Linked DNA regions of Homo sapiens: regions 1, 2, 3, 4, 6 and 7 are each linked to region 5. The links are contacts of gene promoters, found by promoter capture Hi-C in blood cells and fetal thymus (Javierre and others, 2016). All regions are on one chromosome and are shown on one strand. The core of a region is centred on a gene start or on the middle of the fragment in contact, and the rest is flanking DNA. Distances in the headings are between cores, read along the strand shown. Region 1 overlaps PMAIP1 (phorbol-12-myristate-13-acetate-induced protein 1). Region 2 has its middle 91 kb from the start of PMAIP1. Region 3 has its middle 76 kb from the start of LINC03111. Region 4 has its middle 13 kb from the start of LINC03111. Region 5 holds the start of MC4R (melanocortin 4 receptor). Region 6 has its middle 110 kb from the start of PMAIP1. Region 7 has its middle 43 kb from the start of LINC03111.

What was found. Contacts are between HindIII fragments. The CHiCAGO score rates a contact against its expected background, and 5 or more counts as called.
Region 1: a contact is called between a fragment that was not itself captured here and the fragment with the promoter of MC4R in region 5, in 1 of 17 cell types (fetal thymus). The highest score is 5.0, in fetal thymus.
Region 2: a fragment that was not itself captured here is called in contact with the fragment with the promoter of MC4R in region 5 in 1 of 17 cell types (fetal thymus); the score reaches 8.0 in fetal thymus.
Region 3: a fragment that was not itself captured here is called in contact with the fragment with the promoter of MC4R in region 5 in 1 of 17 cell types (fetal thymus); the score reaches 6.8 in fetal thymus.
Region 4: a fragment that was not itself captured here is called in contact with the fragment with the promoter of MC4R in region 5 in 1 of 17 cell types (fetal thymus); the score reaches 5.7 in fetal thymus.
Region 6: a contact is called between a fragment that was not itself captured here and the fragment with the promoter of MC4R in region 5, in 1 of 17 cell types (fetal thymus). The highest score is 5.7, in fetal thymus.
Region 7: a contact is called between a fragment that was not itself captured here and the fragment with the promoter of MC4R in region 5, in 1 of 17 cell types (fetal thymus). The highest score is 5.3, in fetal thymus.

Annotation. Positions count from the first base shown.
Region 1 is chr18:59,902,243-59,905,468 of GRCh38, reverse strand. It overlaps PMAIP1 (phorbol-12-myristate-13-acetate-induced protein 1), which reads right to left. Exons shown (of 2, transcript NM_021127.3): 2 at 1,164-2,822. The coding sequence ends at 2,716. Among named protein-coding and RNA genes, the nearest start is that of PMAIP1, 3.9 kb to the right of the region's middle. RefSeq lists an enhancer at 474-643. The HindIII fragment of the contact is 5,229 bases long and covers 1-3,226 here.
Region 2 is chr18:59,989,029-59,992,150 of GRCh38, reverse strand. No RefSeq gene overlaps it. Among named protein-coding and RNA genes, the nearest start is that of PMAIP1, 91 kb to the right of the region's middle. The HindIII fragment of the contact is 1,051 bases long and covers 1,183-2,233 here.
Region 3 is chr18:60,048,050-60,050,992 of GRCh38, reverse strand. No RefSeq gene overlaps it. Among named protein-coding and RNA genes, the nearest start is that of LINC03111, 76 kb to the left of the region's middle. The HindIII fragment of the contact is 1,244 bases long and covers 826-2,069 here.
Region 4 is chr18:60,110,881-60,113,959 of GRCh38, reverse strand. No RefSeq gene overlaps it. Among named protein-coding and RNA genes, the nearest start is that of LINC03111, 13 kb to the left of the region's middle. The HindIII fragment of the contact is 862 bases long and covers 891-1,752 here.
Region 5 is chr18:60,371,205-60,374,540 of GRCh38, reverse strand. It overlaps MC4R (melanocortin 4 receptor), which reads left to right and starts at 1,766. Exons shown (of 1, transcript NM_005912.3): 1 at 1,766-3,336. The coding sequence starts at 2,192. The coding sequence ends at 3,190. The HindIII fragment of the contact is 4,351 bases long and covers 1-1,802 here.
Region 6 is chr18:60,009,146-60,012,343 of GRCh38, reverse strand. It overlaps the pseudogene ENTR1P1. Among named protein-coding and RNA genes, the nearest start is that of PMAIP1, 110 kb to the right of the region's middle. The HindIII fragment of the contact is 7,406 bases long and covers 1-3,198 here.
Region 7 is chr18:60,080,318-60,083,468 of GRCh38, reverse strand. No RefSeq gene overlaps it. Among named protein-coding and RNA genes, the nearest start is that of LINC03111, 43 kb to the left of the region's middle. The HindIII fragment of the contact is 641 bases long and covers 1,198-1,838 here.

The DNA of each region.
Region 1 (3,226 bases), core at 521-3,020, 470 kb after region 5:
TTATATAAAAGAAGAGCCTGAGGTACACTTTTTTTCCTTGTTTTCTAGTGGTGGCGAGAACTAATAAGGTGCACTTTTAGCAAAACAATTCTGGCTATGCGAGCAGGCTCAGAGACAGGAGTTACTCTTCCAGTGATTCTCAAATCAAATCATGTAGTTTGTCCCCACCCTTTCTGAAGCCAAGCTCCCACCTCCACCCCACTTTCCCAGAGAAAAGCCTCTCCCTCCAGATTGTTATGTATCTTGCCCATAACCCTGCATCCTCCAGCTCTCTGGTTCTTCTTTTCCTCTAGTAACTCCTCCTTCTTCCCTCACGTTTCCCATGTTAGGAAGGCAATTTACATTCTAAGGTGTCAGCTGACTCTTTCCCTTGGCAGAGGTGGGGTGAAGATGTGGCTACCAGATTGAAGCTAAAAACTAGGGGTATCTTTTAGTTCTCACACTCAAACAGGAAGGCCATTGAGTTACACCTACTTTTGCACATGACTAACCTCAGATGAAGCAATCTTTGCTACTCTACGGCTGGAAGCAGAGGAAGAAGCGTGAGGTCACCAAAAAGGAAACTGCACTGCAGCTCCTCTTGCCAGACAGACCCAGGAGCAGTCAAGGATGCCAGCTCACAAAACACCTCTAATTAGATCATGAATCTGTATAGGCTGTAATCCCAGCACTTTGGGAGGCCGAGGCGGGCAGATGACTTGAGGCCAGGAGTTCAAGACCAGCCTGGCCAACATGGTGAAATCCCCGTCTCTACTAAAAACACAAAAATTACCCAGTGTGGTGGCGTGTGGGGGAGGCTTTAGCACGAGAATCACTTAGACCCAGGAGGCAGAGGTTGCAGTGAGCCAAAATTGTGCCAATGCACTCCAGCCTGGGCGACAGAGCAAGACTCTGTCTCAGAAAAAAAAAAAAAAAGGACCTATGTTGGGCATTCATTTCCTATTTTTCACTATTTCCCCTCCCAATTAAAGTGTAAGTCCCTTGAGAGCAGAAATCATGCAAACTCCCCTATATTTTCTACTCCAACTACTGGGAGGAGACAGTGTGGTCAGAAGGTCAGAGGATGTCTGCTGATGGAAATCAGTTAAAATACTTTGGCTTGATAATGAACACTTAGTAATTAGTAGCTTACAAGATGAAGACAAAATTAACACACAGAAAAGAACAGTGAAAACTTTTAATAGTTTACTGCCACAGTATCAACTTTTATATGTGTGCATATGTTTAAATACAAATTAGACCATAAATACCAGATGGTAAAATAGCTGCCTCTAGGCTGAAAAAAAAAACTCTCTACCACTAAATAAACAATCTTAAGTAATACTGAAGAAAACAGATGTGAGGTAATTTTCCATCTAAAGTGACTACAACCTACATTAAGACATTTTAACTAAAAATTCAAGTAGTTATAAGACTCTTGTAACTCAAAAATGTAACTTTAATACACATTTTCAAACTAAAGAAAAATACTTTAATTATAAATAGGCAAAATAAATAAAATTATTCCTGCTGAAATAAAATCAAGACATTATTTATTTGAGGACTGTATATAGCCCAGATAAAAAAAATGAAACTTACTTGAGACCCTACTAAGAAGCTATATAATACTCTAATACAAATTATCTATACAGATACCCATATAAGTATGTAAGTATGTGTATACATATATATTCACCAATGCATATATGGAACTTTCATTCTAGATGAGAACTAACTGTTCCTTTTTTTTAAGAAAAGTATATTCCAATTATGAAAATATTCTTAATTTACATTAAGAGATCACTTTTTGTAGGATGCACACTAATGTGACAAGGAGCATTTTCCGAACCTTTAGAAACTTCTTTAGAAACATTCATATCTTATCAAGTTACTTCTGAATATTTGTTCTACTAAGTTTCAAAAACATCAATTAAAAATTAACTTCTTTTTTCTTTTTATTATCCCTGGTTATACAAAATCCCCATGTTCTTTTATTATATTGAATGTTCAGTCTACTGATTTACTGGCCCCAAGTAACCCTCCTATACTTTATCCAATTTTTTCAAAGTTATTTTCCAGTTTTCCATAGTTTCTAGTAACGCCCAACAGGAACACATTGAATGAAAGATCATCTGAACAGAAGCAATACAATTTGAGTCAAAAGAAACAAATGATTTTACGTTGTGTAGTGACCGAAGAAATCAACACTGAGTATAACATTTCAGTGTTCTCAGAATGAGTTTTTTCATTATAACAAGGTAATATGTATAAACCGAATCATATACAATGTGCTGAGTTGGCACTGAAAAGCAAAACACCAAAAACAGCAACAACAACAATGCACTGAACTGTTTCTCCCCAGCCGCCCAGTCTAATCACAGGTCATCTCCCTTCACAGTAGGCCAGCGGTAATCTTCGGCAAAAACACTAGAACGATTCTCTAAGTAAAAAAGAAATGTGTCAATAATTACTTCTTTATTTTCAAGGGTCTTCCATTCTTGCTTTAAAATAAACAAAGTGGTTTTATAATGTTCTCTCATCCCAAAGAATGATAATCTGGGAAAACTTGAACAGAAATTCACTTTGATGTATTCCATCTTCCGTTTCCAAGGGCACCCATGAATGCACCTTCACATTCCTCTCAATTACAATGCAGTCTTTCTTCAAATTGATGAAACGTGCACCTCCTGAGAAAACTCTTTTGAAGGAGTCCCCTCATGCAAGTTTTTGATGCAGTCAGGTTCCTGAGCAGAAGAGTTTGGATATCAGATTCAGAAGTTTCTGCCGGAAGTTCAGTTTGTCTCCAAATCTCCTGAGTTGAGTAGCACACTCGACTTCCAGCTCTGAGAAGGAAAGCAAAACATGGACATGAACATTGATGATATTACAGACTGTAACCAGCAAAACCTAATACGCCCACACTAGTGACAAATTGAGTATCCCAGGAAGCATTTCTCTTAACTTTGGCTTTATGTGCACCTGTTTTCCAAATGTGACACACACACACACTTACACACATTGTGACTCACCGAAAGCAATCGTTAAGGTAAGAATAAAGACATTTACTTTGAGTTTTTAAAAAACGCATCCTGGATGAGGCAAGTGTTACCTTACTTTCAAATATGTCAAATACCACAAAGAGTAGCATTATCATTCTTTGGGATGTGAGAACATTGTAAAACCACTTTGTTTATTTTAAAAGCAATGCTACAAAGAGTAGCATAAGTCACCAGCCTTAGATGATGTC
Region 2 (3,122 bases), core at 459-2,958, 380 kb after region 5:
GGATCTTAAAACATCACATTAGGGCAGGTTTGCTGGCTCACACCTGTAATCCCAACATTTTGGGGGCCAAGGTGGGAGAATCACTTGAAGCCAGGCATTTGAGACTCACCTGGGCAATATAATGAGACCCCATATCTACAAAAAAAATCTTAAAAAATAAAAATTACCCAGGCATAGTGGCACATGCCTGTTGTCCCAGCTACTGGGGGAGCTGAGGCAGGAGGATCTCTAGAGCCCAGGAGTTTGAAGCTGCAGTGAGCTATGATCATGCCACTGCACTCCAGCCTGGGCAAAATAGTGAGAGGTCCTGTCTCTAAAATACAAAATAAAAATAAAAACATCACACATGCCCCACAAGTATATACAGCTACTAGATACCCATAATAATTAAAAATAAAAAATTTAAATATGTATATGTAAAGCAGAAATATCTCAGTTAAAAGCCATGGAAGTACTAATGAAAAAAGAGATACTGAAGCAAATATTGTCAGCGTGACCCCAAGGTACTCCCAGTAAAAGTCTTTTCCAATGGATTCTGCACAGTCTACTTCCACTGGCATCCTAGATTTACTGTGAAAAGATGAACCAAGCTAAGCCTGCCATTCATCATTTGATTCCTCTAAACCCCCATGGTTCACACCAGACATCACAGGGAAACGATTTTATTTCTCTTGGTGTATAAAGCTAAAGGTCTACTCCCAGGGAGAGAATGACCTGGTCAAGTGGACCTGCATGTCAGACCCCCAAGCTTTAGAGCAATGATGCTCAAACTTTAGCATTCCCTGGGAGATTCTGTTAAATCATAGATCCCTGGATTCTACCCCCAGAGAATCTGATTTAGTAGGTCTGCAATGAGGCCCCAGAATCTGCCATTTAACAGTTTCCCAGGTGATGATGATGATACTGGTCTAGTGACCATACATTGAGAAACAATCCTTTAGTTAAAAGGATATGTGGCAAAAAAATCTACAGATGATGGGATGCTGGGAAAGATTACATTCAGTCGTTTATATTTTATCTGTGAAGAAGGAGACATGGTAATCAGGAAAAAGGGATGGAATTGGAGAGAGAAAAGCTTGAGCAAAGTGTGAAAATTTTAAAATAACTACCACAAGGAATGATTAGCACTTGAGCAGTGCTAAAACCCCAACCAAGGTCAGCAAAGGTAATTATGGTGAAGCTTCACTGAATAGTGATGATATGCTAAGTTCTATTTTGGAATCTTGAATGTATTTATTGCTCCTAAAAGTCTCTGTATTAAGAACTTTTGTTATCCCCATTTTCCAGGGAAGAAAGCAGGCTCATAGGTCTAGTAAGTGGGAAAGCTAATATTTGAATCCACAAAGTTTAATTGCAGAGTTCATACTATCAGCAATCATGCTAGTCTGAGACTAAATCATTAAACTTCTTCACTTTGAAATGGAGAAGTTTAATGATTTAAAACTTGGGCTCTTATCCAAAACCCAAATGGCTTTTTTTTTTTTTTTGTGGTCAATGTTGAGACCACATTAAAACATTGTTTAGATGTTCTCACTCTCTGCTGATGATAGCATTGGAGTGAAAGGGAGAGATGTGAAAGATACAGCAGGACAAGACAAGCAGAGAAGGGTGGGCTGGTTTCTCTGTAAGAGCCTCCCAGCTTGGAGGGTTGGCCATAATGTAGCTGATCCTCAGCTTTTCAGATCAGCTACTAAACTCTCATGTCACCAATAGATTGGATGCCAACTCATTTATTTACAGTGAAGGGGGATGCACCTTTACAGTGGTAACCAGAATATTTATATTCCATCTCCAGAGCATATTCTTCCACCAATCAAAGTACCTGCGATCCAAATTAGTCATCAGAAAGCCATTTGTTGGACAGAGAGTCAGACTAGAGGAAGTAAATGGAGGTGCCAATATTTAACTAGGAGATGCTGGTATGATCAGGCAGGTGTTTTCAGCTAGCATCCATTCTGATATCTATATCCATGCTACAGTGGTTGATAATTTTTTTGTATTTAGGTTATCTAAATGATAAAATGCAAGAAACGATGAATTACAGCCACTCCATAGGAATATTCCATTTAGAAGCAAGCAGCAAAAAATAAAATAATGACTAGCACTATAAAGTAAAACATCTCATTAAGAAAGAGATCGTCAAATGTTTAGTGTAATTTGGAAGAAGATGTCTAAGAAATTTCCAAGTAATAGAAATTTTTTTAAGTTTATATATTTGGCTAAGAAAAAAGCTTCAGTTTTCTTGGAAATTTAATTATGTACCAAAGTGAATCCCCACATGATATAAATGAGAATATCTACTAAGAAACAACTAACTATAAGACCCCTGGTGTATTAGTCCATTTCTGCACTACTATAAAAAAACTACCTGAGACTGGGTAATTTATAAAAAGAAGGTTTAGTTGACTCACAGTCCCATATGGCTGGGGAGGCCTCAGGAAACTTACAGTGATGATGGAATGGGAGGCAAGGCACACCTTACATGGCAGCAGGAGAGAGAGAGTGTACACGAAGGGGGAAGCACCATCAACGCTTGTGAGAATTCACTCACTATCATGAGAACAGCAAGGGAGAAATCCAACCCCATTTTTCAATCATCTCTCCCACCAGGCCCCTCCTTTGACATGTGGGGATTATAATTCAAGATGAGATTTGGGTGGGCACACCGAGCCAAACCGTATCACCTGGTGATGGCTCCCCTGGCTTAGAATTTTAGATTACTAAATGAACAGGGCAATAACACAGGTACTTATCTAAACATAAGCAAAGACCAGCTACTTGTAAAGCAAATATTTTAACACACTTAAAAGAGTCAAATGGCCACATAAAAAGGCCAGAATAATTAATTATTTTGGTTATTTTAACTTTACCCAAAATAGAAATATGTATATTGTGTGTATAAAGCTAAGAACTAAGCTCACGCATAAAGCCACGCATTTTTAAAGATGTGCAAAATATCACTTTCCAAGGATATTCATACCTAACAGAAACACTGTTCCATTATGTAAAAAACAGGAACATGTTGCTAATCCAGCATTATTTACATTGATGGGCTAAAATGCTAACTTGAAATAATTACTGGATTGGTTCTGTTCAATTACCAAAGCTTGACATTCACCTAA
Region 3 (2,943 bases), core at 198-2,697, 320 kb after region 5:
GACTTTATTTGCATAAAATGCTAAAATGAAAAGCTAACATGTGTGGTATTGATTTGGGTATAGGACAACAGAAGACAAAGAAACTTCATAGGAGGCTGGACAATTTGTGAGAAAACTATTATTGTTCCACCCATAACGCCTGTTATGGGTGGCTAGAAATATAACAACTTGTGTTACATAGTAACCAAAAGATGGCTACCACTGTCACCTGAGATAAAGAAAGAAAATAAATATGTGAACCTGTGCCTCATGGTTTCCAGGCAAAATGTTGAAAGTGTCAATCAGTTGCTTTTAGGTGCATTTGGAAAGGCTCTATGAGAAAGGCACAACCTCAGAAAACAACTGGACACCTTGGCAAGCAGAATGAGAGGGAACATAGAAAACCAAAAGCTGGCTGGGTAAAATAAGGCTGAGACCTACTGGGCTGCATTCCCAGATGGTTAAGGCATCCTAAGTCATAGGATGAGATAGGAGGTTGGCACAAGATACAAGTCACAAAGACCTTGCTGATAAAACAGTTTGCAGTAAAGAAGTCGGCCAAAACCCACCAAAACCAAGATGGCAACGTATGACCTCTGGTCATCCTCACTGCTACACTCACATTAGTACCATGACAGTTTACAAATGCCATGGCAACGTCAGGAAGTTACCCTCTATGGTCTAAAAAGGGGAAGCATAAGTAATCCACCCTTTGTTTCACATATAATCAAGAAATAACCAAAAAAATAACCATGCTCTGTTTACAGAGTGGCCATTCTTTTATTCCTTTACTTTCCTAATAAACTTGCTTTCATTGAAAAAAAAAAGAAAAGAAAACCAAAAGCTTATTAACTAAAACACTGAACTCTTTCCCTTCTCCAGCTTCTCCAGCCACTAGATTTTCAAATTAGGTTATAGCCCCGTATCAAAGACCAAGGCAAGAGTGTAGCCATCTCTAGATGATTTCAGTAGGCTGTCTTACTGACAAAAACAGCATCTATAATATTTAGGGGCATGGTCCCACAGATGCAATATGCTTAAAATACTTGTAATTAAGTATAGAGAAAATGATGTATTAAAAATAATTGTGAGTATATTTTTGGGCAAATAGAGTTAACTGGAAACAGATACACAGAAAACCCACAAAGTTTTTGAGAGAGACGTATTAGCAAAAGTTGTACTAGCCTATTGTATGTGTAAAAAGGCTTCTGGGCTTCCAATTTCTCAGACAGGAAGAAAGCTGAGGATGCTATTCTATCATCAAAAAACACATATTCTCCACTGTCCCTGTTGGATTTAGGTCCAAATTAAATGATCAAATTTTTTAAACTTTGAAAAGAAAATATAGGATTTCCTATTGCATTAGGGATGGGAAAGAATTTTAAAAATACAGAAAGCATAAACCATAAAGAAAAGGATAGATGCATTTAAATTAACATTAAAACTTCCATGGATCAAAAATATGATTAAAAGAGTGTGAAAAACTGTATACTGGGAGAAGGTATTTGAAATATATAAAAATAACAAAAAGTACAGTACATATATATGAACTACCACAAATCAGCATAATAAAAAGCAAACACAATAGAGAAAGGAGCAATAGATATGAACAGGCAGTTTACAGAAAAGGAAATCAAATGACCAACAGCATGAGAAAAGGTAGTCAAATTCACTAGATGTCAGCAGAGAAATGCAAACTAACACAAAAAAGGATACTATTTCATACCCATCAATTTGACAAAAATTAAAATATTGGCAAATACTTGTCAAAGTTTGAGAAATGGGAACTTTTAGCCATTGCTGGTAGAAAAAATGCAAATTGGTATAAACACTTGGAAAGCCACTGGCAATAGTTAGCAGTGTTTAAGGTGTGCATGCCATGAAATGTAACATTTCTACTTCTAAGCAACAAGCCCTAGAATAATTCTTGCTCAGGATGCCAAGGAAATATGTATACAAGTTTCATACAGCATTATTTATAATTGCAAATAATTGGAAACAACCCAAATATTCATCAACAGGTAATAGATAGACAAATTCATATTCCTACAATGAAATCCTAAACAACAGTAAAAAAATGAACTGAAGCTTTATGTCATGTATCAACATTAATGAACCCCACAAATATAATGTTGAATATATTTGTATATATGATACACCACCACAGACAGAGCTTTTTAATGTGCAAGAAATTCTTTGTAAAGTTTACAGATATAAGTATATGCAGTAAAATTGTAAAGGTATCAATGAGGGTAAAAAATGATAAATTCTGGGAAACAGTATGCCTGAAGAAAAGAGACTGAAATGTAATTGGGGAACAGCACAAAGAGAAATTTGGCTACATCCCTAATGTTTCTCCTTAAACTTGGAGTTGTGGACATCGGTTGTCACTATATTAGTATTATATTTTAAACGTTAGTATTATATTTTAAACCTTACTTTATGGAAAATTTTAAATATATACAAAAGTAGAAAAATACTATAATACAGCACCATGTCCTACACATTACCCAGCTTCAACTTTTGTAATTTCATAGACTACCTTGTTCAAGACATAGTCACATCAAAAACCTCACACAAGCATTATTGCTAAAGAAACTGAAGGAATTATATTATTTCATCCATTAATACCTCAGCGTGAATAACACTCACTGGGGCCTTTCGGAGGGTGGAGAGTTGGGAGGAGGGAGAGGATCTGAAAAAATAACTAATGGGTACTAGGCTTAAGACCTGGGTGATGAAATAATCTCTACAACAAACCCCCAAAACACAAGCTTGCCTATGTAACAAACCTACACTTGTACCCCTGAACTTAAAAGTTAAAAATTTTTTTAATTTAAAAAATAAAATAAAAATAAAAATAAAAAAATCAGTATGTATATCCAAAAGATAAGAACATTTTAATATAATCACAATACCATATTATGTCTTTAAAATTAGCAATAATACCTAATATTATCAAAT
Region 4 (3,079 bases), core at 72-2,571, 260 kb after region 5:
TAATTTCCTTGTTACTAGTAAATAAACTGTTTTAAGCATTTTATTTGGAAAGCTGCTTTTTCCTAGAAAACTCAGGAGTAAAATTCTACCACTTCCTTGAGTGGAAGGAAATGGAATGAAGAAAGAGCAGAGAGGATAGCATCTTAAAGTCAGGAAACTAAGATTTTGAAAGCAGTCTAGGAGAGACCATGTACTTGAAAACAAGTGAAGTGTTATCATCTTAGCATAAAACTGACCTACAAGAGAGATGTCAAGGGATTACATAACTACAGGAAAATGTCAAAGGATTATACTGCTGGCTCCTGAAGAAACAAGGCACTGGTTTGACTCAGCCTCAGTTAATCTCAGGATTAACTCAGAGCCAGTGTTCACATAATGTAGGAGGTAGAAAAAAATAAGCTTCCATAAGTCTGGATGGAAATACAGCCATAATTGGCCATAGGACACATGAGCAGACTGGAGAAGATAATTAAGCCCAGGACAGGATAACCTGGGGCCCATGGGTTAGGTCCTTTAGATGTGTTGGGCATGAGCCTTCCACATCCAGAGGATACAGGACAAGAGCGACCACTAAGGCCCCAATTTGATGCAGCCCACCTGAAACACAACAGAGCAACAGAGAGTCCCAGCAGGAGCCCATACCTCCATGTTTGATCTTAAAGAAACAAGAATGCTACTATACCCGCCCTGGTAACAAGGACAGTCTAAATGTTCCTTGGCCTACTTTGGCCTCAGTGACCCCAATTCTAAGGTGAGGAAAGCTTGGAAAGCCTAAATGGGTCCAACAAATGTTATTGCTTTTTTGTACCCACGTGCTGAATAAATTGAAAAACAAAATTAAATAGTGACAGGTGGGAGGTCAAAATATTATCTTTATTATCTATAAAGCTTAAGTCAGAGGGCCTAGCTGGTGTGAGAATGAAACGAGCAAGGACTAGACAGACTTCCCTATTCAGGGGTCAAGTCTGGCAGGCCTCCCTGTTGCAGCAGAAGAGCTTGTTCCTGGGGACAGCTGTGGAACATCTGTTCTCTCTGAGCAGCTAGATCCCCAAAGTAAGAAAAGCGTGACTGAGTGAGCTACCTGTATTAGGAGAAATTTTACCTTGCCTAATGGTAGTCTCCAAGTACAATACCACACAAACTATCTAAAAAGTTACAGAACAACAAGTCTTATGTATCATGTTAAGATGCTCAACTCATGCAATGTATTAAATCAATTTTAAAACATATAGAAACAAGCAGAGGAACAAGATGGGATAAGATATGGTGGATATGGAAGGACCACACTACTGAGTCCAGGATTATGCAACGTTCATATGTCCTATTTCTCTCCACATCAGCCTTTCCTGCTGATGCTGTGATTACAAAGACCAGGGTTGAGACTGAACAACAGGTCCCAACAGGTAGATAGTGCCTGGAGCCAACACGTGCTTGTGGTATTGGAGAAATGAGGACGCAAGTATGCTTGGCCACAGCTGTAGCTATCTACAACCTACCGAGCAGCCAGGCCTTATTTCTGAATTTCCGCATCAGCATACAGTTGGGGCCAGACTTTGTGTCACCAATAAATGGTTGATTTAGGAATGATTTGGTTGTCACTGTAGACGTAACATGTTCTGTGCTTTGCTAATATTTAATATTTACTTGGTTCTTCCATTTCTATCTACAGGCGGCACTCTCATTTGTTCCATTCTTCATCTATGTTCGACCCACATCTTTCACTTATTTTGTCTTAGACAGGTTATACAAGCTTCCAACTTCACAATTTGTAACAAATGGAGACTATCAGTTTCATCCATCCCATTACTTTTCTGGGTTTTGTTTTTGGTGCAAAATTAAATATTCTCAAATATAACATTAAATACATGATATACAACTCTAATTATTCTTTCCCAAATTTGCTAATAAAATAAATGATCCTGGAATGAGTGAAGAGAATCCAGGAGTTATATTAATTGAGTTTCCTAGACACAGAAGCAAACTTTAAGATGTCAGAGGAAGTATTACCCTGTAAAAATAAGGTTAGGCTGTGATCTTTAGATTCTCTCAGATAATTATGTTCTATATACAGATGAGATATTCTCCAGTTTTTACAATGTGATGAAAATATATATCACATAAATCTGTAAATGAAGCACTATGAAAGAACCTACTGTTTATTCAGGTTTGCTCAATTTGCAAAGGAATGAAAAAGGATAAAACAAAGTGATTCTAGAAACCATAGACTCTATTTCTGTTTACCGAAGGAAGTGGTAGGTGTATTCTCCATAAGTGAGACATTATTCCGGAATTATGTAAATTATTCACCAAACATTGCAAAGCACTCTGACTTCTCAGAAATATTTTAATTCTATGGCAAAAAAATTAAATTGTCTTTTCAACTGACTCATACTCTAAATTTAATTGTAGGTTTATTTGCTAGGAGAGATTCTAAGAAATGTATGATACTATTTGGTATGTGGCCACCTTTTTGCCATATTACTTTGAAAGTTTAATAAAACCAATGCTTCAATAAGTATGTAATGGTAAAATATTAAAATTATTTGTACTCCTAAATATTTGCTTATCATTTAATTGTATATGAATATAATTAAACAGTTATTTAACTACTATAATTACGGCAACAACACAAAACATACTCCTTGATATTATACAATGAATACCTAGACTTTACAGATATAAACTTCCCATTTTCTTTTCACTTTGCCAGATGATGGAAGAAAATGGTAGCTTTTTAGAAAACAACAAATGGAATCAGAGTCTGGACAAAACTAAGCAACTTCATGTTTGTTTTAGTTCAGATTTCAGATAATTTTCTTTTTTTTTTTTTTCCTAAACTCCCCAGCTGGTTCTGCTCTGTAATGCCCTTGCTTCCAACTTTGGCCTTTCTTCCCCTTTCTTTTCTAAACATCCTGCCTTATGTCCCATTCTATGGGTGTCCTAGAGAGTGACTGGTTATAGAATGAGATAAACTTGTTCAGTTCTGATGTTGAACGTTAATTCATGCCAAGTTGCTGAATCTGGTGACAATTTTATATTTCTCATCTCTTACTCCTAAAGTGTTATTTTGGCATTAACC
Region 5 (3,336 bases), core at 517-3,016:
TCACATTATAGTGTAAGCAAACCTTGAAAATATTATGCTACATGAAAACAGTGAGCCACAAAAGGCCACATATTGCATTATTTCAATCATATAAAATGTCTAAAATAGGCACATTGATAGAGACAGAAAGTAGATTAGCAGTTCCTAGAGGATAAGGAAAGGGTAAAATGGGGAGCAACTGCTAATGGGATAATGAAAATGTTTTAGAAATAGAAAGTGATGATTATGGCACAACTCTGTGAATATATTCCCCCAAAAATCCATTTAATTACTAAAGAGGTGATTTTTTTTGGTATGTGAATTATATGTCAATTTTTAAAAAGAGAAAAAATAAGGCAAGAGGAAGGTAAGATTATTTCCAGCTCATGATGTTCAGGAAAGCCCATTCCAGCATTTTACAATATACAGATGATTAGGCATTCAGAAATACAGGGGAAGGGAGTTGGAGGTGTGAGTTCTGCTCTGTGCAATCATTCAAGAGACAGGCTCCTTTCATGATATGGTCCTGCCACCTGTAACATGAGATTTCAAAGACAGGAGAGAAAACTTGTGTAAAATTATGAAAGAGCTAATGCGATGAGCCCCACTGTCAACATGCCATTAGCTAGAATTTAGTCATAAGGTCCTACCCAATTCCAAAGGTGGATGGAAGACGTTAATTTATCTCAATGCTCAGGAACAATACTTAGTATTGTCTCTGTCACAAAAGGAAAGAGGATACATTCCCAACCTAAGTAACTGAGATTCAGAATTAACCCTGAAATAAGCAGCTACAAACTATAGAGCACTAAAACCAAAAATAATCATAGAAGAAAAGAATATACAAAATTTTGTATAATCTGTTGTTCAGTTAATTTGGAAAGTAACTTTGCTGCCATCTTTCAAACCACCTTAAGCAAAATATTCAGAAACTTCAATAACTAACTAGTATCACCAGTCTTGGCTTGATAAGTAAAGTTACTAGGTATTTGTCGGTTCAACTTACGATACGTTAAACTCTGGAGGTTTAAAAAAAAGTTGCTTAAAAAAAAAAAACAGAATGCAGCTTATTATTTTCCTGAGTTCAGTGTAAGCATAGTTACATTAATGCCGTATGAGTTTAAAATATTGTAAATAAAAAGCACCTTTTTTCAGCTATAACACAAACTCCTCAATAGAGAAATATGGGATATTAGTGCATTAAAATCAACCCCTTTTGAACCCATTCATAATTTATAGCTACCTACATAGTTCTTCCAGCCATACCATGTCTATCTGTATCATTAAATATCCTCTCTGTTTTTCAGGTATTTTAACTGAACCACTACTGGCTGGGTTCTTAATAAAAACAAAAAATTAAGAAGGTAAATAAATTCAGTATCCTAGCCAAAAAGCAGAGTATCTGTTTCAGGAACATAAGACAGTATACTTTCCATTTCATTTTACACACACACATGATGTCTTTTACATAAGAATGAACCTGGCTGCCTGAAGATAGCTTGTTTTGATATCACAGAATGGCCTCTAGGGATCAAGTTGTTTCCCTTGAAAACTTAAAAAGGGAAATTCAGTCTCTTATCCGGCTTGCTTCTCGACTTCAGACTTCAGGAGCTTCTGCATCTGAATCTGTGTCACCCTGCAATTTGTGTCTCTGAAACATAATCCTGTCTCACAGACTCCCATTGCATTGGGATTGGTCAGAAGGAAGCAGAGGAGGAGCCACCGTGAACATGTTTTTTTTCTCTCCACACATCATAAAAATCAGCAGCTGGCGCCTACAGCCCCTAACACTCAAAGCAACGCTCAGGCTGGAAACAGAAGCTTCCGAGAGGCAGCCGATGTGAGCATGTGCGCACAGATTCGTCTCCCAATGGCATGGCAGCTTCAAGGAAAATTATTTTGAACAGACTTGAATGCATAAGATTAAAGTTAAAGCAGAAGTGAGAACAAGAAAGCAAAGAGCAGACTCTTTCAACTGAGAATGAATATTTTGAAGCCCAAGATTTTAAAGTGATGATGATTAGAGTCGTACCTAAAAGAGACTAAAAACTCCATGTCAAGCTCTGGACTTGTGACATTTACTCACAGCAGGCATGGCAATTTTAGCCTCACAACTTTCAGACAGATAAAGACTTGGAGGAAATAACTGAGACGACTCCCTGACCCAGGAGGTTAAATCAATTCAGGGGGACACTGGAATTCTCCTGCCAGCATGGTGAACTCCACCCACCGTGGGATGCACACTTCTCTGCACCTCTGGAACCGCAGCAGTTACAGACTGCACAGCAATGCCAGTGAGTCCCTTGGAAAAGGCTACTCTGATGGAGGGTGCTACGAGCAACTTTTTGTCTCTCCTGAGGTGTTTGTGACTCTGGGTGTCATCAGCTTGTTGGAGAATATCTTAGTGATTGTGGCAATAGCCAAGAACAAGAATCTGCATTCACCCATGTACTTTTTCATCTGCAGCTTGGCTGTGGCTGATATGCTGGTGAGCGTTTCAAATGGATCAGAAACCATTGTCATCACCCTATTAAACAGTACAGATACGGATGCACAGAGTTTCACAGTGAATATTGATAATGTCATTGACTCGGTGATCTGTAGCTCCTTGCTTGCATCCATTTGCAGCCTGCTTTCAATTGCAGTGGACAGGTACTTTACTATCTTCTATGCTCTCCAGTACCATAACATTATGACAGTTAAGCGGGTTGGGATCATCATAAGTTGTATCTGGGCAGCTTGCACGGTTTCAGGCATTTTGTTCATCATTTACTCAGATAGTAGTGCTGTCATCATCTGCCTCATCACCATGTTCTTCACCATGCTGGCTCTCATGGCTTCTCTCTATGTCCACATGTTCCTGATGGCCAGGCTTCACATTAAGAGGATTGCTGTCCTCCCCGGCACTGGTGCCATCCGCCAAGGTGCCAATATGAAGGGAGCGATTACCTTGACCATCCTGATTGGCGTCTTTGTTGTCTGCTGGGCCCCATTCTTCCTCCACTTAATATTCTACATCTCTTGTCCTCAGAATCCATATTGTGTGTGCTTCATGTCTCACTTTAACTTGTATCTCATACTGATCATGTGTAATTCAATCATCGATCCTCTGATTTATGCACTCCGGAGTCAAGAACTGAGGAAAACCTTCAAAGAGATCATCTGTTGCTATCCCCTGGGAGGCCTTTGTGACTTGTCTAGCAGATATTAAATGGGGACAGAGCACGCAATATAGGAACATGCATAAGAGACTTTTTCACTCTTACCCTACCTGAATATTGTACTTCTGCAACAGCTTTCTCTTCCGTGTAGGGTACTGGTTGAGAATATCCATTGTGTAAATTTAAGCCTATGATT
Region 6 (3,198 bases), core at 419-2,918, 360 kb after region 5:
CAAAACAGCACAGTACTGCCATAAAAACAGACACAAAACCAGTCAAACAGGATAGAGTTCAGAAATAACCCCAAATATTTATGGAAAACTGAGTTTTAATAAAGGTGCCAAGAAGAGACAATGAGGAAAGGACAGCTTTTTCAATAAATGGTGTGGGGAAAATTGGATATCCAAATGTAGATGAATGAAATTGGATCCTTATTTTCACCATATACAAAAATCAACTCAAACTGGATTAAAGACAAATTAAGACCTGAAACCTAGTAGTTTCACTAAACTACTGAAACTTTATTTTAGTAGTTAAACTACTAAAAGAAAACATAAGGGAAAAGCTCCATGACATTGGTCTGGACAATATTTTGAATATAACCCCAAAAGTATATGCAACAAAAGCAAAAAGAGACAAATAGGACTGCATCACTCTAAAAAGCTCCTGCACAGCAAAGGAAACAAATAGCAGAGTGAAGAGACAATACATGGCATAGGAGAAAATATTTGCAAACCATACATCTGATAAGGGGTTACTATCCAAAACATATAATATGGTTTGGATGTTTGCTCCAAATCTCATGTTGAAATGTAATCCCTAGTAGTGGAGGTAGGGCCTGGTGGGAAGTGTTTGGATCATGAGGATGGATCCTCATGAATGGCTTAGTTCTATTCCCTTGGTAATGAGAGAGTTCTCACTCTAAGTTCAGGCAAGATCTGGTTGTTAAAAAGAGTATGGCACCTCCCCCCTTCTCTCTTGCTCCTACTGTCACCATGTGACATGCTGGCTTCCCATCACCTTCCACCAAGATTGTAAGCTCCCTGAGGCCCTCACCGGAAGGAGATGCCAACACCACGTTTTCCGTACAGCCCGCAGGACCATAAACCAATTAAACCTCTTATTTTTTTTTTTTTTAATAAATTACCTAGCCTCAGGTATTTCTTTAGAGTGATATAAGAATGGCCTAACACAACATATGAGGAACTAAACTCAATAGCAAAAAAACAAATAACCTGCTTTAAAAATGGGCAAAGGACCTGAATAGACATTGGTCAAAAGACTTACGAGAGGTTCGGAGGATCGGGGGCGGCCGAGCGGCGGGCGACGGGGGCGGTTGACACGGGCCGCGGCACGGGCAGAGCAGGGGCCATTGAGCCGCCGCTGCCGGGCTAGGCAGGTCCTGCCCCGCCTGCCCCGCCTGGCCCACGGCGATGTCGAGCTACCCGCGCCGCCGGGGCGTCACCCCGCTGTCCCGAGCCCGGAGCCTCGCCATTCCCGACGATTTGGGCTATGGAAAGGGGAAATGTTCTAAGCAGAGCCCGTCAGGAGCCCACGAGACACATTTTGGAGATGACAAATTTGAAGATCTTGAAGAGGCAAATCCATTCTCCTTTAAAGAGTTTCTGAAGACCAAGAACATCGGCCTGTCAAAAGAGGACCCGGTCAGCAGAATTTATGCAAAGGAAGCGTCGAGGCATTCACTGGGACTTGACCACAACTCCCCACTCTCCCAAACCGGGGGGTATGGCCTGGAGTATCGGCAGCCATTTTTCGAGGACCCGACAGGGGCCGGTGACCTCCTGGATGAGGAGGAGGATGAGGACACCGGATGGAGTGGGGCCTACCTGCCGTCCGCCATCCAGCAGACTCACCCGGAGAGGGTCCCTGCCTGCACGTCGCCCTGCAGCACATACCTTTCCTTTTTCTCCACCCCGTCAGAGCTGGCAGGGCCCGAGTCTCTGCTCCCGTGGGCGTTGAGTGACACTGATTCTCGCGTGTCTCCGGCCTCTCCGGCAGGGAGTCCTAGCACCGATTTTGCGGCTCAGGGAGAGTCTCTGGGAGACAGGCACCTGCGGACGCTGCAGATAAGTTACGAAGCACTGAAAGGTGAAAATTCTAAGCTGAGAAGAAAGCTGAATGAGATTCAGAGCTTCTCTGAAGCTCAAACAGAAATGGTGAGGACGCTTGTGCGGAAATTAGAAGCAAAAATGATCAACGAGGAAAGCGACTACCACGACTTGGAGTTGGTGGTTCAGCAGGTGGAGCAGAACCTGGAGCTGATGACCAAACGGGCTGTAAAGGCAGAAAACCATGTCGTGAAACTGAAACAGGAAATCAGTTTGCTGCAGGCGCAGGTCTCCAGCTTCCAGCGAGAGAATGAAGCCTTGCGGTGCGACCAGGGGGCCAGCCTGACAGTGGTGAAGCAGAACGCCGACGTGGCCTTGCAGAACCTCTGGGTGGTCATGAACAGCGCACAGGCTTCCATTAAGCAACTGGTTTCCAGAGCTGAGATACTGAATCTTGCTGCCGAAATCCTTAAATCTGTAGACAGAATTTCTGAAATTAAAGACGAGGAGGAAGACTCTAGAGGACCCCTGGGTGTTCTCAGCATGAAGCTCCGTGTATGCCCTGAGATCACCACTGCTTGATCTAAATGTGCAGTTGTGTCCTTAAATATGCAGCCTTCACCCAGAGTAAAGTGTTTATCCCAAGAGTCCAGTGTCGTGCCCTCAGCCAGTTCTTGGCCACCGCAATGGGAGCAGCCCTGGCCGAGTTGCCCCTGTGGTTTCTATGCAGCCCTTGTTGGCAAAATTCCTGCTATCTTATAGATTCTAATGAGCTCTTAGAAGACATCGTCATAAAAGCCAGCGATTTTAAGAAAAAAAAAAAAAAAGAAGAAGAAGACTTACAAACAGCTAACAGGTTCATGAATAAATGCTTGACATCACTAATCATTAAGAAAATGAAAATGGAAGCCACAATGCAATATTACCTTATACCTGTTAGAATGGCTATTATAAAAAAAAAAAAGATGAAAGATAAGCGTTGATAAGAATGTAAAGGAAAGGTAACTCTTGTGCACTGTTGGTGGGAATGTAAAACAGTACAGCCATTATGGAAAACAGTATGAAGATTCCTCAAAAAACTAAAAATAGAACTTCCATGTGACCCAGCAATCCCACTTCTCAATACATATCCAAAGGAAATAAAATCAATATGTTGAAGAGAAACCTCCACTTCCATGTTTATTGAATCGTTATTCACAATGGCCAAGACATGGAATAAACTTAAGCATTCACCAATGGATACATGTATTTTTTTAAACATGCCAGTGAAATACTAGCCAGCCTTTTTTTAAAAAAAAGAAAATTCTGTCATTTTCAACAACATGGATAAACTTGGAATACATTCTGCTAAGTGAAATAAGC
Region 7 (3,151 bases), core at 269-2,768, 290 kb after region 5:
ATGAAGAAGAATTCAGAAATTTCATCATATGAAAGACCACCTACAGAAACTGGAAATGTTCAGCTTAGAAAATACAATATATATAGTGAGATGATAGATTCCTTAAATATTTAAAGGATTAGCTTTGGGAAAAATTGAACCAAACTTAATTCTGTTAAATGCGAGAGAGCAGAATTGCAATCAATCAGTAAAAACTTGTAGGAAGACAGATCTTAGTTAAATGTGTCTTCAAACAATAGAAAACTTTATAAACAAACAAGTTATTAAATAAAAATCATAAATTAGATTATTACAATCTTTGAAGGGTCATATACTTACCAAGGTCTACTTGAAAAAGAGTGAATCCCTTGTGTGTGGGAGGAGAGTTATACCAAAAGATTTGAATCTGTAAGAGATACTTGGTGAGGACTGCATGCTGGGTAGAACATCAGATATTCTCTTCCAGCCCTGAGTCTCTCTAATACCGAAGCAAGATCACACTAAGGGGTAGAGTTACTGAGTGCAAAAACCACAGAAGGCATGATTGTTGCCCACAGAAACCCAATGTAGCATGCACAGATGAAAGAAAACCATTTACCAGCAGTATGTCTAAGAAATCATAGAATCTAAAATACTACTTCTCAAAAAGGCTTTTCCCAAAATCTAAAGTCCCCATGCAAAAAATAGTTGAAAAATGGATATCCTTTAAAGAAAAAATGACTTGGACTAATTTATCTTTATAAATCTAGAAAATGTTATTTGCTAATTAATTAAGCCAATTCAGATGCTGTAGTTCATCATAAAAGAAAACAAAGAAAAGTAGATGTTAAGCTTAAGACGATTCTGAGAATTTATTACAAATTGGCTTTTCCTTTTATAAACAAGGCAAAATTTAAGTATTGTCTTAAAATTTAAAAATACTGAAATTCACTGACAATAGATACAAATACCTATCAACTGTTAATAAGTTACCATTTATTGAGAATTTGTGTGCTAAGCCCATGCCAGGCATTAACACCAATTGTTTTTCTTCAAAAACTCTGTTGCCTGTTGTAAATGAGAAACCAGAGGTTTAGGTAGCCTATTTGTTAATGAGGAAAACTATATGACTTGCTAATAGCCACACAGATAATAACTGGCACTAATACATTAGTTGTGTTGTTTATACGAAAGTATATGCATATGTATGATAATGACTAATATTAACAAAAAAAAGCTTAAAATTTTAGTTCTAATAATAAACGATTAATGTGGCAATACAGGCAAAGATAATAACTTGTTTCATCTGCTGCTTATCATTTCTTTTTGCAACATTAAATTCTATCCTGTTGAATCAACATACAAACATTAAGGTCCATTTTTATGTTAGTTTGCCCAATAATAGCAATTTTAAATCCTGCTAGAAACAACATCTGTGCACTTGAATAAGTACGCTTATGTGTTTGCACTACATATGATAGAAAAAGTTCATTTCAAATACAATATTATGTGAAGAAAATAGGGAAATTAAAATTGTTTGGTTATAAAATAAAATTATATTGTTTTATTTATTCTGTGGATTGAAAATTAAGATATTTCATGTCTATTTTAACTGCTTGTTTTAGGAAATTAGGAAATTACATAAGTGAAATTTTACTTGTAAGATTTTTCTTCGATTTGTTCCTTCTGTGTGCGGCATCCACATAAATTTCCATAGAGATAATTGGCTTGAAATTTTATACATTTGTTTTCTTTTATAGTATTTTAAATATTAAAGAATTTGCAAATTTAAGTCAAGCATATGTTTTTTAAATGAGAAAATTGAGACTTAGAAGGTTTGTGATTTGAAAAATACAAAATATTCCTATCCAAAAGAAGCTTACAAATTATTATTTTGGCTAAGATTTACTGTTTCTTCTTCCATATGACACATATGTCTTATACACTTTGGATACTAAAATTTTTGAGATTTTAATTTTTGATACATAATATTTGTGCATATTTATGGGGTACATGTGATATTTGGTTACATTAATAGAATATGTAATGATCAAGCCAGGGTATTGGTGTATCCATCACCTCAAGTATTTATCATTTCTATGTATTGGGAACATTTCAAGTCTTCTCTTCTAGCTAATTTGAAATGCACAATACATTGTTATTAACTACAGTCACCCCACTCTGCCATAGTACCCATTAACCAGTCTCTCTTCAAGGCTCCCACCCCACCACTCACCCACACATCCATCCCAGACTCGGGTACCTAAATTTTACTCTCAATTTTCATGAAATCAACTCTTTAAATTCCCACATATGGTAAAAACATGAGATACTTGTTTTTCTGTGCCTGACTTACTTAATTTAACATGAGATTTCAATTTCATTCATTTTGCTCTAAATGACACAATTTCTTTCTTTTCTGTGGTTGAATAGTATGCCATCGTGTTTATATATTACATTTTCTTTGTCCATTTGTTCATTGAAGGATACGTTGACTCCATATCTTTGCTGTTGTGAATAGTGCTGCAATAAACACAGGGAGGCAGGTATCCTTTTGATATACTGATTTCATTTCTGAGAAATCTCCATACTGTTTTTCATAGTAGCTATAATAATTTACACTCCCACCAAAAGTGCATGAGTTCCCTTCTCTCACATCCTGAATAGCATCAGTTACTTTTTGACTTTTTAATAATAGCCATTCTAGCTAAGGTAAGATTATATCTCATTGTGATTATGATTTCCATTTCCCTGATTATTAATAATGTCGAGCATTTTTTCATATACCTGTTGGCCAGTTGTATGTCTTCTTTTGAGAAATGTTTATTCATGTCCTTTGCCCACTTTTTAATGTGATTATTTTTCCTGTTGAGTAGTTTGAGTTGCTTGTATATTCTGATTATTAGTTCCTCGTTGGATAGTTTGCAAATATTTTCTCCAATTCAACATGTTGTCTCTTCACCCTTTTGATAATTTCCTTTGTTGTGCAGAAGCTGTTTGGTTTTGCATGGTACCATTTGTCTACTTTTTTTTTGTTACCTGTGCTTTTGAGGTCTTAACCATAAAATTTTTGCCTAGATCAATGTCTTCAAATGTTTTCTCTGTTTTCTTCTAATAATTTTATGAGTTTGAGTCTTATGTTTAAGTCTTTAATCCATCTTGAGTTGATTTTTGTGTGTGGTGAGAGATAATG